Regions from separate parts of the Homo sapiens genome. Here regions 2 and 3 are each linked to region 1. Evidence: promoter capture Hi-C in human tissues and cell types (Jung and others, 2019). All regions are on one chromosome and are shown on one strand. The core of a region is centred on a gene start or on the middle of the fragment in contact, and the rest is flanking DNA. Distances in the headings are between cores, read along the strand shown. Region 1 holds the start of PKMYT1 (protein kinase, membrane associated tyrosine/threonine 1). Region 2 holds the start of PRSS27 (serine protease 27). Region 3 overlaps NAA60 (N-alpha-acetyltransferase 60, NatF catalytic subunit).

Evidence for each region. Contacts are between HindIII fragments. The study calls those that stand out against the background at their distance.
Region 2: a contact is called between the fragment with the promoter of PRSS27 here and the fragment with the promoter of PKMYT1 in region 1, in 4 of the 25 tissues and cell types used here (dorsolateral prefrontal cortex, lymphoblastoid cells, mesenchymal stem cells and 1 more).
Region 3: a contact is called between a fragment that was not itself captured here and the fragment with the promoter of PKMYT1 in region 1, in 3 of the 25 tissues and cell types used here (dorsolateral prefrontal cortex, lymphoblastoid cells and spleen).

The regions. Positions count from the first base shown.
Region 1 is chr16:2,978,820-2,983,455 of GRCh38, forward strand. It overlaps PKMYT1 (protein kinase, membrane associated tyrosine/threonine 1), which reads right to left and starts at 1,627. Exons shown (of 9, transcript NM_004203.5): 1 at 1,467-1,627; 2 at 829-1,093. The coding sequence starts at 838. RefSeq lists enhancers at 317-1,193, 1,194-2,069, 2,070-2,946, 3,991-4,492 and silencers at 1,361-1,590, 1,601-1,960, 4,613-4,636. The HindIII fragment of the contact is 14,611 bases long and covers 1-4,636 here.
Region 2 is chr16:2,717,655-2,721,971 of GRCh38, forward strand. It overlaps PRSS27 (serine protease 27), which reads right to left and starts at 2,570. Exons shown (of 6, transcript NM_031948.5): 1 at 2,461-2,570. The coding sequence starts at 2,506. RefSeq lists an enhancer at 2,840-3,407 and silencers at 3,141-3,900, 4,031-4,100. The HindIII fragment of the contact is 19,281 bases long and covers 1-4,317 here.
Region 3 is chr16:3,446,458-3,451,162 of GRCh38, forward strand. NAA60 (N-alpha-acetyltransferase 60, NatF catalytic subunit) reads left to right here. Exons shown (of 8, transcript NM_001083601.3): 2 at 2,014-2,083. Among named protein-coding and RNA genes, the nearest start is that of NAA60, 5.1 kb to the left of the region's middle. The HindIII fragment of the contact is 7,237 bases long and covers 1-4,705 here.

The sequences.
Region 1 (4,636 bases), core at 377-2,876:
TTTTTGAGACAGGGTCTCACTCTGTTGCCCAGGCTGGAGTGCAGTGGTATGATCTCGGCCCACTGCAGCCTCCGACTCCCAGGTTCAAGTAATTCTCTTGCCTCAGCCTCCTGAGTAGCTGGGATTACAGGCGTGTGCCAACACACTAGAATAATTTTTATATTTTTAGTAGAGATGTGGTTTCACCATGTTGGTGAGGCTGGTGCACCAAAGTATTATAAAAAACAATAGAGCGGCTGGGTGTGGTGGCTCACGCCTGTAATCCCAGCACTTCGGGAGGCAAGGTGGGTGGATCACTTGAGGTCAAGACTTCGAGACCAGCCTGGCCTACATGGTGAAACCCCATCTCTACTAAAGATACAAATTTTTGCCGGGCGTGCTGGTGCATGCCTGTAGTCCCAGCTACTCAGAGGCTGAGGCAGGAGAAATGCTTGAACCCAGGAGGTGGAAGTTGCGGTGAGCCGAGATTGCGGCATTGCACTCCAACTGGGCGACAAGAGCAAAACTCCATCTCAAAAAAATATACATAATAGTAAATAAAAAATTAAAAAGAGCAGTCTCCAGTACCTGAGGGAGTACAGGGGTGAGGGGAGCGATGCTACCTGGGCCTGGCTGGCAGGCTGCCCTCCATCTTGTGGAGACTCTTCCTCTGACTCTAACTACCTCAGAGTCCCAGCCCAGGGTTTCTCCAAGTCAGGAGCCAGGGTGTTGGGATCCTGGAGGTCACTGGTCACAAGCACAGCCTCCAGGCCCAACCCTGGCACACTCGGGGACCTGGGCCTGTGCATCTTAACCCAGTTCTCCCACCGTCCCTGCCCTACGACTTACGTTCTAGCATGACTGGCCTGGCCCAACAGCCTCAGTGGTGGGACGGGGGAGGCAGGAGCAGGGGCTCCCACGTGAATCCAGGGTGTCCCTGAGCTAAGGCCAGGCGGGGGTGACCTCCGCAGCTTCCGGGGCCCTGGGCGATCGGGCCGTCTCGCCTCACCCTCTCACCAGGCCCGACACATCTGCTGGCCACCTTTCCCGGTAGACGGTAAGTTCCTCCCAGGCAGGGCCGCGGCTGACTTCACTCCGTGGGTGTGGGGAAGCCCTGGCGAACAGAGCAGTGGACGGGCTGTCACGAGGGAAGAGGGGCTGTTGCAGAAGAAGAGAGGCTGTCCCGGGGCAGGGGCTGTCACGGAGGAAGGACTGTCACGGGGAGGGCGGCGGCGCGGGGTTGATGGACAGCAGGCGGGGTCTCCGGGAGGGGCGAGTAGGGCGGGACCGCCGCTGGGAAGGGGCTCGAGGCAAGGGAACCAGGAATTGGGGAGGACGGGAGGCAGGGGCTCGCGGGGGCGGGCCTGAGGGGACGCGAGCGGGCCGCCGGGGAGGCCTGAGGGGCAGGGGTAACGCAGACCTGGCGAGGCGGAGGGGAGCGGCGAGGTGGCCACGCCGAGGCCCCTCACGGCGGGGTCTGGGCTCACCTGGGGCGACTGGGCGGGGCGCGGGTCCGCGAGGGCCCAGATTCCGGGTCCGCGGAGGCCACGGGACCCCTCGGGTGGCTCAGCGGGCCGGAGTCTGCCGTCGACTGTTCCGGACGCCCGGGCGGAGGACTCCCGTGAGGGGGAACGGCCCGTGAACGCGCGCGGAGCTGCTCGCGCCAAAAATTCCAAACCGGCCTCGAGGCTCCTCCCCCTCCCCAGTGCAGCCCGTCAGGGGTGCCCGGGCTCCGAGGCTCCGCCCCTCGTGCTGCGTGCGCGCCGCCGAGCCGCCCCGCCGCTCACTGCGCAGGCGCACAGGATTCTCCGCGCTGGCCCGGGGCGTGGGTGGCGGCCTGGTTCTGAGTCGCTGCGCGGGGCTTCAGCCGCCCAGTCCCTGGGACGCCCACTGCCCTCCAGGCCTCGCACCCGACACCCACCGCCCTCGCTGGGCTGGCGTAGTGTTTGGGTCCATAAAAGGGACCGCCATCCCGGTGCTCGGAGCAGGCGTAGCCCCAGGGTTACTCCGGGTAGGACCAGGAAGTCCCTACGGCCTCCTGGGTCCCGGCACCCCCCTTCTCACTCCGGCCGTGTTCTGAACCAGGGTCGCGGTGGGAGGCCAGACGCACGACCCCCAACCCCTAGCGCACGGCTTCGGGAGCCAGAAAAAGCCGCCTCTTCCAGGAAGCTCTCCAGATAGGCAGGACTCTGCTTGGCCTGACCTCGCCTGCCTGCAGCTTCCCTGCCAACAGGCCTCAGATACTTTTTTTTTTTTTTTTAGACAGGGTCTCACTGTCACCAAGGCTGGAATGCAGTGGTGCAGTCCCCAGGTTCAGGCGGTTCTCCCAACCTCAGCCTGCCGAGTATGTGAGATCACAGGCGCGCGCCACCGCACTCGGCTCATGTATTTTATTTTTAGACAGGGTCTCATTCTGTTGTCCAGGCTGGAGTGCAGTGGGGCGATCTCGACTCACTGTAACTTCCGCCTCCCCCGCTCAAGCGTTCCTCCCACCTCAGCCTCCTGAGTAGCTGGGACCACAGGCGCGCGCCACCACACCCAACTAATTTTTGCATTTTTTTGTAGAGACGGTGTTTTACCATGTTGGCCAAGCTAGTGTCGAACTTCTGACCTCAAGCGATCCGCCCGCCTCGGCCTCCCAGAAGGCTGGGATTACAGGCGTGAGCCACCGCGATTGGCCGCAGGATCATAGTTCACTGCAGCCTCGAGCAGCCACTTCCGGGGCAGCTCCTCCATTCTCTGAGTTTGAGACTTGCTCTCAGCTCAGATCCCTTCAGCGCTCTCCTGGCTGAACGACCTTGGGAATGCACTGAGCCTTTCTGAGCTTCGGATTAGTCTCCTCTCCTGGAAAAAAAAAAACAGCTGAGGACGCTGGGATGATCCCCTAAAGTGATTAGCAGGGGCCCTCGCGGAGCAAGTCGGGCTAGGGATTGTTCCTTCCCTCACCGAGGGGCTCTTTATCTGTTTAACTGGGTGGGAGGAGTACGCTTCCGGCCAACCCTCCCCCAAACGCTGGCCTTCTCACTCTCACCTCTCCTTCCGCCTTATTTTTGCTATTGCCCTGATCTCTGTCCGATGTTCTATCTTTTGTTTGTGAGTTTACTTGTTGACTACCTGCTCCTTCTAGCCCTGGCCTCCAGAACCAGTCCCCCAAACCCTCCATCCTCCCCAAGTCTCTGACAGGTCATGGACTGCAAAGCTTCCCACCCATTCAGTTCCTGCACCCTCTGTAAACGTTCTGTGCATGGAGCAGCAGTGTGGGGGAGGAGAGGCTGGGATCCTGGCTGGGGGCGGCAGCCCACCTGCCTGCACCTTTCCTTGTCCTTCGCATCTCTGGCGGCTGTGCCCCAGTGACTCAGGCAGGATCCTTGTTGATGACTCCAGACTGGCCCCCAGGAGGCCTGGGGCACACACAGGCCCCTCCCCAGCTGCCTAGGGCTACCTCTGCCAGCCCCATCTCCCCAACAGGTCCCCTTCCAACCGCCCATTTTTTAAAGTCTGATTCACAATGATAATTAAAAAAAAAAAAAAAAAAGCATGGAAACACATGCTTCCGATGTAAATTTCACTGTGTGAGGAAAGGCTGTAATATAAATATATGTAAATGGAAATAAGTAGATGGAGCAGATAAGTGCGTGGTGTGAGGGAAACTAGGGCTGCGATCCTGCCTGCCCCAGTTTCTGCGTGTGTAAAATGGGGATAAAAATAATAGTTTTCTAGACTAGGCAACATAGCAAGGCCCTGTCTCAAGAAAGAAAAAAGAAAGAAAAGGAAGGGAAGAAAGGGAAAGAAAAAGAGAAAGAAAGAAAGGAAAGGAAAGGAAGGAAGGAAAGAAAGGGAGAGAAAAAAAGAAAAGAAAGAAGAAATAAAGCAGTGAGGCACAGTGGTACACACCTGTAGTCCCAGCTCCTCAGGAGGCTGGAGTAGGAGGATCACTTGATCCCTGGAGTTAAAGGCCGCAGTGAGGGCCGGGTGCAGTGGCTCATGCTGGTAACCCCAGCAGTTTGGGAGGCTGAGGCAGGTGGATCACTTGAGCTCAGGAGTTCGAGACCAGGCTGGCCAATATGGTGAAACCCCTTCTCTACTAAAAATACAAAAATTAGCTGGGTGTGATGGCAGGCGCTTGTAATCCCAGCTACTCGGGAGGCTGAGGCAGAATTGCTTGAACCTGGGAGGCAGAGGTTGCAGTGAGCCCACATCGCACCACTGCACTCCAACCTGGGTGACAAGAGCGAGACTCTGTCTCAAAAAAAAAAAAAAAAAAAAAGGCTGCAGTGAGCCTGGGCAACAGAGTGAGACCCTGTAAAAAATATAAAGTGATAATAATAGTAGTTCCTCCTTCCTCGGGGAGTATGAGCACCACATGAGAAAATGCCTGTGAAGTGCTTAGCACAGAGCCGAACACACAGTAGGGGCTTACTCATTGTTTCAGAATAACAGGCTGGGCGAGGTGGTCACGCCTGTAATCCCAGCAATTTGGCAGGCTGAGGCGGGCAGGTCACTTGAGCTCAGAAGTTAGAGACCAGCCTGGGCAATATGGCAAAACCCTGTCTCTACAAAACATTCAAAAATTAGCTGGGCATGGTGGTGTGTACCTGTGCTCCCAGCTAGTCAAGAGGGTGAGGTGGGAGGATCGCTTGAGCCCAGGAGGTGGATG
Region 2 (4,317 bases), core at 1,320-3,819, 260 kb before region 1:
CGGAAAAGATAACCAGTCCCCTGGAGTTGAGGGGCTGTGGGGACAGGAAGTGGCCATGGAGGGCCCAAGCACCCCCAGGGTTTTTACGGCATCCTCTTCCTTTCTGTCTGCCTCACAGTCTGGGGGGCACCCTCCCCAACACCACTGGTGGGCAGAGACACCCCGGGGGTTGCTGGACGATAAGGCAGCGGGCGGCGAGGGGGCAGCTGTGGATGGGCAGGAGGAGGAGGTGGAGAAGGTGCAGGGCAGGCAAAGGGGTGCCCTGCAGAAGCGGGGTCAGGGGCAACGGGAAATGGAGAGTCTGCCCTGGATGCTCTGCTCATTAATTTGTGCTAATTAAGTGCCCTTTAAAATGCAAACACTACCGGGAGGGTTATTCCCTGGCCCCCCGACCCCTTGCTCCTTCCAAGCCTGAGGATCCTGCTTGCAGAAGGGCGCGCACTGTCAGGCCTTCTCGCTCTCTGGGAGTCTGCAGGAGCTGTGTCTCCATGCTCCCTGCCTGAGCACTGCCCCTTCAGCGATGCCTCCTCCCCATGCAGATCCTTCCTTCCTAAAGTAGCCCTGTACTTCTCATTTAGGCAGAGTCTTCTGGTCTCTGAGTGCTTGCTCCCCTCACCCCACAATCTGGATGCCCTTCCCCCAGTCTCCATAAGTCCTAGTCTTTTTTTTTTTTTTTTTTTTAAGATGGAGTCTCACTCTGTTGCCCAGCCTGGAGTGCAGTGGCGCGATCTCAGCTCACTGCAAGCTCCGCCTCCTGGGTTCACGCCATTCTCCTGCCTCAGCCTCCCGAGTAGCTGGGACTACAGGGGCCCGCCACCAAGCCCGGCTAATTTTTTTGTATTTTTAGTAGAGAGGGGTTTCACCATGTTTGCCAGGATAGTCTCGATCTCCTGGCCCCGTGATCCGCCCACCTCGGCCTCCCAAAGTGCTGGCATTACAGGCGTGAGCCACCGCTCCCAGCCAAGTCCTAATCGTGATCTAGAGATCAAGGCCCAACTGAATGCTGCCTCCTCCAGGAAGCCTTCCTTGCTTGCTTGCATTGTCTACCTTGGAAGCCCTATACTCTCTCTTGAGCTCTCTGTCCTGATGGGAGCTCTGTCTACATCACCCTGGAGCCAGAATCAAGTCTTATCTTAGCCCAGGAGCTCCGAGAAGGCAAGGGCTGCATCTGGGGGGCCTGATCTCAGGGAATGTGTGGATGGACACAAGTGTGGCTGTGGGGGCTGATGGGAAATGGGGGATGTGGACAGCTGAGCCCTTCAGGGTGGGCGCCCTGTGGGGGCTGGAAGCAACAGCCAGGGGTGCCGGGGGTGTCAGGAGCATTGTTTGGGGCCTGGGCCTGTGATTCGCTGGTAGCTGGTGGGGATGGTGAAGCTTAGTGGGTACCACCAGCCAGAGACCTGGTGGGAGTGCCACCCTCGGGCTGGGAGTGAGGACGTGTCCAGGAGTCCAGCCTCTGGTCACAGCTGTTAGTGAACCGACTGCAAAACTCATTGCCAAAGAGTTTTGGCAATGACCTTGGTTCCTCACCCCGCTCAGGGGCAGTCACAGCCTTCCACCTCCTGTGCACATGGCTTGCTCAGAGGGCACCATCCTTGTGCTGGGAGACTGGGGGCATGGGGTGGGGGAGGCCGGGCCACTGAGGGGCCACTGGTGCCCTCCCACCCAGGAGAACAAGGAAGCCTGGAGTACTGGCTAAGCTGCAGCCTGGGATGACCTGACCCAGCCCTGGGAGGTGACTTGAGGACAGGGAAGTGTGGTGGCTGCCAGACTGGCTAGGCTAGCCCAGGAATGTGAGAGGTTTTCCCTGACAGAGAGTGTCCCGGCCCGCAGGGAGGGGCCTGGCAGGTGGGGCCCCCTGGCTGGCACCTGCTGTCCCTGACCCAGGACTGGGAGAGGGCACGGTGGCGCATCACCGGTTCCTCTGTCAGCAGGAGACAGGGCCCTCTGCCACCTACACCCCCTGCCCCCAGCTCTCTACTGAGCCTGCAGCCAGCCTGCTGGGGCTTCCGGGCACAGGCAGCAGCCCTCGGCTCGGCCACCCTCCCACCCCGAGTATGATGGTCCAGGCACTTGGAGCCTGAGTTCACATCCTGCACGTAGGAGGCCCCTGTCCTCACCTAGAGAATGGGGGGAGAGGCCGAGGTGGCAGGAAGCAGGGAGCCTGGCCAGAGCTGGCACACCAGTGCCCGCGGAGAGGCATGGGAGGAGGTGCTGCCCAGTTATGCCGGTGGGGTCCTCTGGGGCCTGTGCGCACACCTCCCACCCTGCCTCCCCACTTTGGACTCCCCACTTGGCACATCTGGAGCCTTCCCACCTGCTCAGGGGCAGGAGGGATGATGGCCTGTCCCACAGCCCCAGCCTGTCCCAGGGAGTAGGGGGCTGAGCCGGAGCCCCAGGCAGTGCAGCGGAGCCTGGTGGGGGACTGCACCACCAGGACCCTGCACCTTCACGACTCACCAAAACACAGCAGCAGCAGGAGCGGCACCGCCGCCGGCCGCCTCATGTCCTCAGGCCTGGCTGGGGCGCAGGGCCGTGGTCGGCGGTGGCAGAAGCGTTGGAGCACGAGCGAGGTGCAGGCTCCATGAAGTGGAGTTTTATGCTGGAGATGAGCACAGGCCCGGCTATGCGGCCCAACCCGTCGGCCCGGCCTGCCCAGCTCCTCTCCTCAGGAAGGAAGCGCCCAGAGCCGACTCCTCCGTGACCTAGCCCTGAACCCCGAGACCCCAGGGCAGACCCCTCACCCCAGCGCAGCACGGGGTGCCGTTGGCCTCGGTTCCTGGACCCTGAGCTGACCCAGACCCCCCAGCAGACCCCGAGCTGACCGCGGTGCACGCGAAGTCCGTCCAGCTTCATTCATTATTATTATTATTATTTTTTTTAATTTTTTGAGACAGAGTCTCGCTCTGTCGCCCAGGCTGGAGCGCAATCTCGGCTCACTGCAAGCTCCGTCTCCCAGGTTCAAGCCATTCTCCTGCCTCAGCCTCCTGAGTAGCTGGGATTACAGGCAGGTGCCACCACGCCCGGCTAATTTTTTGTATTTTTAGTAGAGACGGGGTTTAACCGTGTTGGCCAGGCTAGTCTCGATCTCCTGACCTCGTGATCCGCCCTCCTCGGCCTCCCAAAGCGCTGGGATTACAGGGGTGAGCCACCGCGCCCGGCCTCATTCAGTATTTTATTGAGCGCCGATGGAACACAGTGGGGCTGGGCCGCGCTGGTGGGAAAGTCAAGGCCAGGGGTGTTTGCGGGGCCGAGGGCAGGGGAGGCGATGGGACATGGGGCGGGGTCCGGAGTTGGCCGCAGCGACCCTCCTCCCGGGACAGCAGGCCCCAGAAGTTCCTCAGGCGCGCGCCAGCGCGGCCCAGGCGGCCGACCCGGGCCCCGGCTGCCATCCCTTGGAAGGGGCGGGGGCTTCCTGGCACCAGGCGGGGCGGAAGCGGCTCCGGGAAGGCCGGGCCGGGGTTACCGTTTCGGTGTCCCCGCCTGGCTCTGGGCGCGGCGCCGCGGCGGAAGAGGCTCGGGGAGGAAGTTATTTGGGGCACGGCGCTGACGTCAGAGACAGAGTGGGGCCGGGCCGTGGGGTCGGGGGCGCCGGACCTGTTTCCCCGCCGGCGCCGGGGGTCGGTACTCGCGGGCGGGGCGGGGCCGGGCGGCTCCGGGCGGGGCTGGGGGTGCGGCCGTTCCCGCCTCAGCCTTGTCCGCGCGCGTCGTGGTGCTGCCCTCTGGTGGGCGCGGGGCGCGGCGCGGGCGGCCAGGGGTGCAGAAGGGGCGCTCCCAGCCTCATGGTCCGGGCTCCGGCTCCCCGCATCGCCCTCCCTAGCCCCGCCCTCCCGCGTCTCCGCCTCCGCCTCCACCGCCTCCTCCCACCCTTCCCTCCCCGTCCAGTCCCTGGAGTTCCCGGGTCGGGGGTGGGAGGCGGGCTGGGCAGCCCCTGGGGGTCTGGAGGGAAGGAGGGAGGGCGAGGAGTGGGAAGAGGGGACTCCAAACGTATTCATTCATGTATTGATTTATTCATTCAGTCAGTCAGTCATTTCTGAGCAGATTTGAGCCCAATACTGTCCCCGGTTTGGGGAATACAAAGGTGACCCAAACAGACCTCACCTCAGTGTGAGAGAGAGAACATCATTTAGCAGAGAAATCTCTAATTATAAACCGCGACGGGCTGGGTGCAGTGGCTCACACCGGGAATCCCAGCACTTTGGGAGGCCAAGGCAGGCAGATCACCTGAGGTCAGGAGTTCGAGACCAGCATGGCCAACATGGTGAAACCCCGTCTCTACTAAAATACAAAATTAGCCGGGCTTGGTGGCGGGCACCT
Region 3 (4,705 bases), core at 1,125-3,624, 470 kb after region 1:
GAGGCGGAGCTTGCAGTGAGCCGAGATCACACCACTGCACTCCAGCCTGGGTGACAGAGTGAGACTCTGTCTGAAAAAAAAAAAAAAAAGAAAATACAGGGGAAAAAATGGCAACACATTCCTGTCACCCAGAGATCACCACTATTTACTCTTTATTATTTGTTTTTTTTTTTTTGAGACAGTCTCACTGTTGCCCAGGCTGGAGAGCAGTGGTGCGATCTCTGCTCACTGCAACTTCCGCCTCCTGGGTTCAAGTGATTCTTGTGCCTCAGCTACCAGAGTAGATGAGATGATGGGCAGATGCCACCACAACCATTTAATTTTTGTATTTTTAGTAGAGATGCAGTTTTGCCATGTTGGCCAGGCTGGTCTCAAACTCCTGGCCTCAAGTGATCCGCCCATGTCAGCCTCCCAAAGTGCTGGGATTACAGGTATGAGCCACCGCACCTGGCCTGCTCACTGCAACCTCCATCTCCCAGGTTCAAGCAATTCTTCTGGCTCAGCCTCCCGAGTAGCTGGGACTATAGGTGCGTACCACCACACCTGGCGAATTTTTGTATTTTTAGTAGAGGACGGGTTTTCCCCATATTGGCCAGGCTGGTCTCGAACTCCTGACCTTGTGATCTGCCCGCCTTGGCCTCCCAAAGTGCTGGGATTACAGGCGTGAGCCCCTGCCCCCGGCCCCTATTCTTAAGTATATATCTTTTCCCTAGTGATTTTTATGATGATGCAGCTGTATATTGAAACGGAAAGATACTCATTTTTGGGAGTAAAATTGGTTATGAAACAAAAACAATAACAAAGTTGCTTTTGAAGACTATGCGTTAAAATGGTAGTGGTAGTTATATTTTTAATTTTTATGGGTACATAGTAGGTGTATATATTTATGTGGTACATGAAATATTTTGATGCAGGCATGCAATGTGTAATCACTTCAAGGTAAATGGGGTATCTTCCCTGGCGATGTTTAACATGATTTCCAGAATGAATTGCTCACTACGTTTGGTGTGTTTTCCATTCCCAGATGGTACTGCCTTTTAAGGTCTATTACTTAAACATAAGTATGGCTCTGGTTCTTACCGCCTTTACCGTATCCTTCATGGGAAGTTGATACTGATCGGAAACTGACACAGAGCCTTCTCACCTACACTAAGGGGGCCTAGGTAAGCAAGATTATCTTTCTCCCAACTTCAGCAAGAGGTTTTCTTACTGGTGTTCAGAATGCTTGATTGAGCAGTTAGAAAACTGTTGCTACCTAGTCTCCAGTCTTATAAGGGGACAATGGCTGCAAGTCATGCCTGCAAGAACAAGAGGCTCACACAGTTTTGAAATTAGCACAACTTCTAGCTGGATAGGAGTCTTTTTAGTTTCATTTAGCCTTGAGTTGAAACTAATAGGAGTCTTTTAATTAGAAAAAAGCTCAGGGCTCTAAACGTACCTTCAACATGTTAATTCTGTTACCAAAAACTGGCTTGGTCTGTGTTAACTCCCAACAGAATTCTTTTTCAGTCACTGAGGCAGAGGTGCTTCCAGAGAAAGATTCTTGACCTACTCATACTGAATAATTATCGTTACTAGAAGCTGCAACCAAAGACTCCTGGAGGGTAGTAAGAGGTACAGAGAATGCAGGTTAGATACAGTGAGGACAGAGAAGAAAGGATGGGTTGGAGGCTGGGCGTGGTCACTCACACCTATAATTCCAGCTACTTTAGAGGCTGAAGCAAGAGAATCACTTGAGTCCAGGAGTTCGAGGCTGCAGTGAGCTAGCATTGTGCCACTGCACTCCAGCTTGGATGACAGAGCAAGACCTTGTCTCAAAAAAAAAAAAAAAAAAAACATGGGTTGCTTTGTAGTTTAGAGAACTACATGTTTAGATAGTTAATTTTTCCCCAAAAGGGCCCATCAGATTGATACTCTGAGATCCAGGGTTTGTCTGACACTCATTAGCCTATGAGTTGTAGAGATGGGATGGCCAGGAGTGAAGTGATGGCCTTGTGTCTTTCTCCCCTGCAGCATACAGAAAGGCTGTACCTGGAGGAAGGAAGTGCGGAGCCAGCCTGAGTTGGGAGAAGAGCTCCAGAGAGTGAGTCAAAGCGCTCTGTGTCCTGCTATTAATGATGCCCTCATAGTCAGAGGAAGCCTACTTAAGTGAAATCCATTTTTGACCTGTCAAGTATTAAATATTCTCTTAATTTTTAGTACTGAATGATAGAAGGCGCCTAGTGAAACAAATGCTTTCACTTTTTTGCTAGGAGGGTAAATGAGTATATTCTTACGTTAGGTACACAGGGATACAGTACAAGTATGCCAGCCTCTTTAAACTATAAAGAAGTAAACAAGATTTGGTTTAAGCATCAGTCTCTTGTGAGTCTGATGGGTAAGCCCAGTCTCAGGGCACACTGACAATGTTAGTGGAGAACGAGACTCTCCCAGTGTGCTGCCCTGACCCTCTGAGATTGGTCTGTGTAGCCACGTGGTGGTCATCCTGTGCCACCTCTGGTTTGGTTCTAATCAAAGGAAGCAGTATCATCTGTGGTGATCCGTCTTACACACTTGCATCATTTTATACCAAAGGAGAATTTCTTTTGTTAAAAATTTATTTTTCATTATCTACTCATAAAGAAGGAGCCAAAGGGCTGGGCGCAGTGGCTCACGCCTGTAATCCCAGCACTTTAGGAGGTGAGGCGGGTAGATCTCTGGAGGTCAGGAGTTCGAGACCAGCCTGCCCAACATGTTGAAACCCCATCTCTACTAAAAAATACAAAAATGTAGCCGGGTGTGCTGGGCGTGGTGGCTCACGTCTGTAATCCCAGCACTTTGGGAGGCCAAGGCAGGTGGATCATGAGGTCAGGAGATCGAGACCATCCTGGCTAACACGGTGAAACCCCATCTTTACTAAAAATACAAAAAATTAGCTGGGCGTGGTGGTGGGCACCTGTAGTCCCAGCTACTTGGGAGGCTGAGGCAGGAGAATGGTGTGAACCTGGGAGGTGACAGTTGCAGTGAGCCGAGATCACACCACTGTACTCCAGACTGGGCGACAGAGCAAGACTCTGTCTCAGAAAAAAAAAGAAAAATTTAGCCAGGCATGGTGGCGCCCAACTGTAGTCCCAGCTACTCGGGAGGCTAAGGAAGAAGAATTGCTTGAACTCAGGAAATGGAGGTTGCAGTGAGCTGAGATCGCACCACTGCACTCCAGCCTGGGTGACAGAGCGAGACCCCATCTGATATGGTTTGGCTGTGTCCCCACCCAAATCTCATCTGCAATTCCCATATATTATGGGAGGGACCCAGTAGGAGGTAATTGAATCGTGGGGCAGGTCTTTCCCATGCTGTTCTCATGATAGTGAATAAGTCTCACGAGATCTAATGGTTTTTAAAAAGGGGAGTTTCCCTGCACAAGCCCTCTTTTGTCTGCCACCATGTGAGACATGCCTTTTACCTTCCACCGTAATTGTGAGGCCTCCCCAGCCACGTGGAACTGTAAGTCCATTAAACCTCTTTTTTTTGTAAATTGCGCAGTCTCAGGTATGTCTTTATCAGCAGTGTGAAAACAGACTAATACATCGTCTCAAAAAAAGAGAAAAGAAGAAGAAGGAACTAAAGAAGAATTTCTTTGGAAGCAAAATATTTGGAAGCAAAATATTTGGCTCCTGACTGAAAGGGTTTTGATCCATGCATACATTAATAAACCCTTCAGAACCATGAGTTGGGATAATTCACTGTCCCTTGTGCTAGTCTCATGGAGCTTTTCTGCTCTTCTGGGAGTGCTCCTGGGGTGGTCTGGAGGCCTCTCAGGCAGAGCAGAGGCTGGTCAGCAAGCCACAGGGCTTGCCATGAAGTGGTTTGTTCATGATTTGTTTCTGGGACCCTGGGAAAAATGTTCTCAGGGTCTGCCTAGGAAGGCTGGTTTTGGAAGCTTGTGGATTTCTTTCTGGGTGAGTCAGGAAAGTTGTGCTCCTGCTGGGCGCAGTGGCTCATGCCTGTAATCCCAGCACTTTGGGAGGCTGAGGCAGGCGGATCACAAGGTCAGGAGATCGAGACCATCCTGGCTAACATGGTGAAACCCCATCTCTACTAAAAATACAAAAAATTAGCCGAGCGTGGTGGTGGGCACCTGTGGTCCCAGCTACTCGGGAGGCTGAGGCAGGAGAATGGTGTGAACCCGGGAGGCGGAGTTTGCAGTGAGCCGAGATCGTGCCACTGCACTCCAGCCTGGGCGACAGAGTGAGACTCCGTCTCAAAAAAAAAAAAAAAAAAAAAAAAAGAAAGTTGTGATCCAAGGGAAAGCATACAGGTTTTAATGATGAACTAGTTTGTTCCTTTGTCTCCTGGCTTTCATTCTTCATGGCATGTGCTCAGGGCAGCCAGTGGAGAGAGGCATCATTCTGCATGGTATAGAAGCCTTGGGTGGGTGTTTCATCATCTGTAAAATGAGGACAACAATACTGAACTTTCAAGGCCATTGTAAATTAGAATGTACAGTACAAGCATTGTAAGTTAGAAGTCAATTAGAACATGCAGGAGGGATTATAACTCAGTGTTTAGCGTATAGCAGACACTTAGTAAATAATGCATTTACTCTGTTCCATTCTAGAAGCTCCATTGTTGTTTGTACAACAAACACCTCTGTTGCAGTGCTTATCAGATTGTCTTGTAATCACGTAACTCCTCAAAGGCAGGATGTGTGTAATAACACATTTCC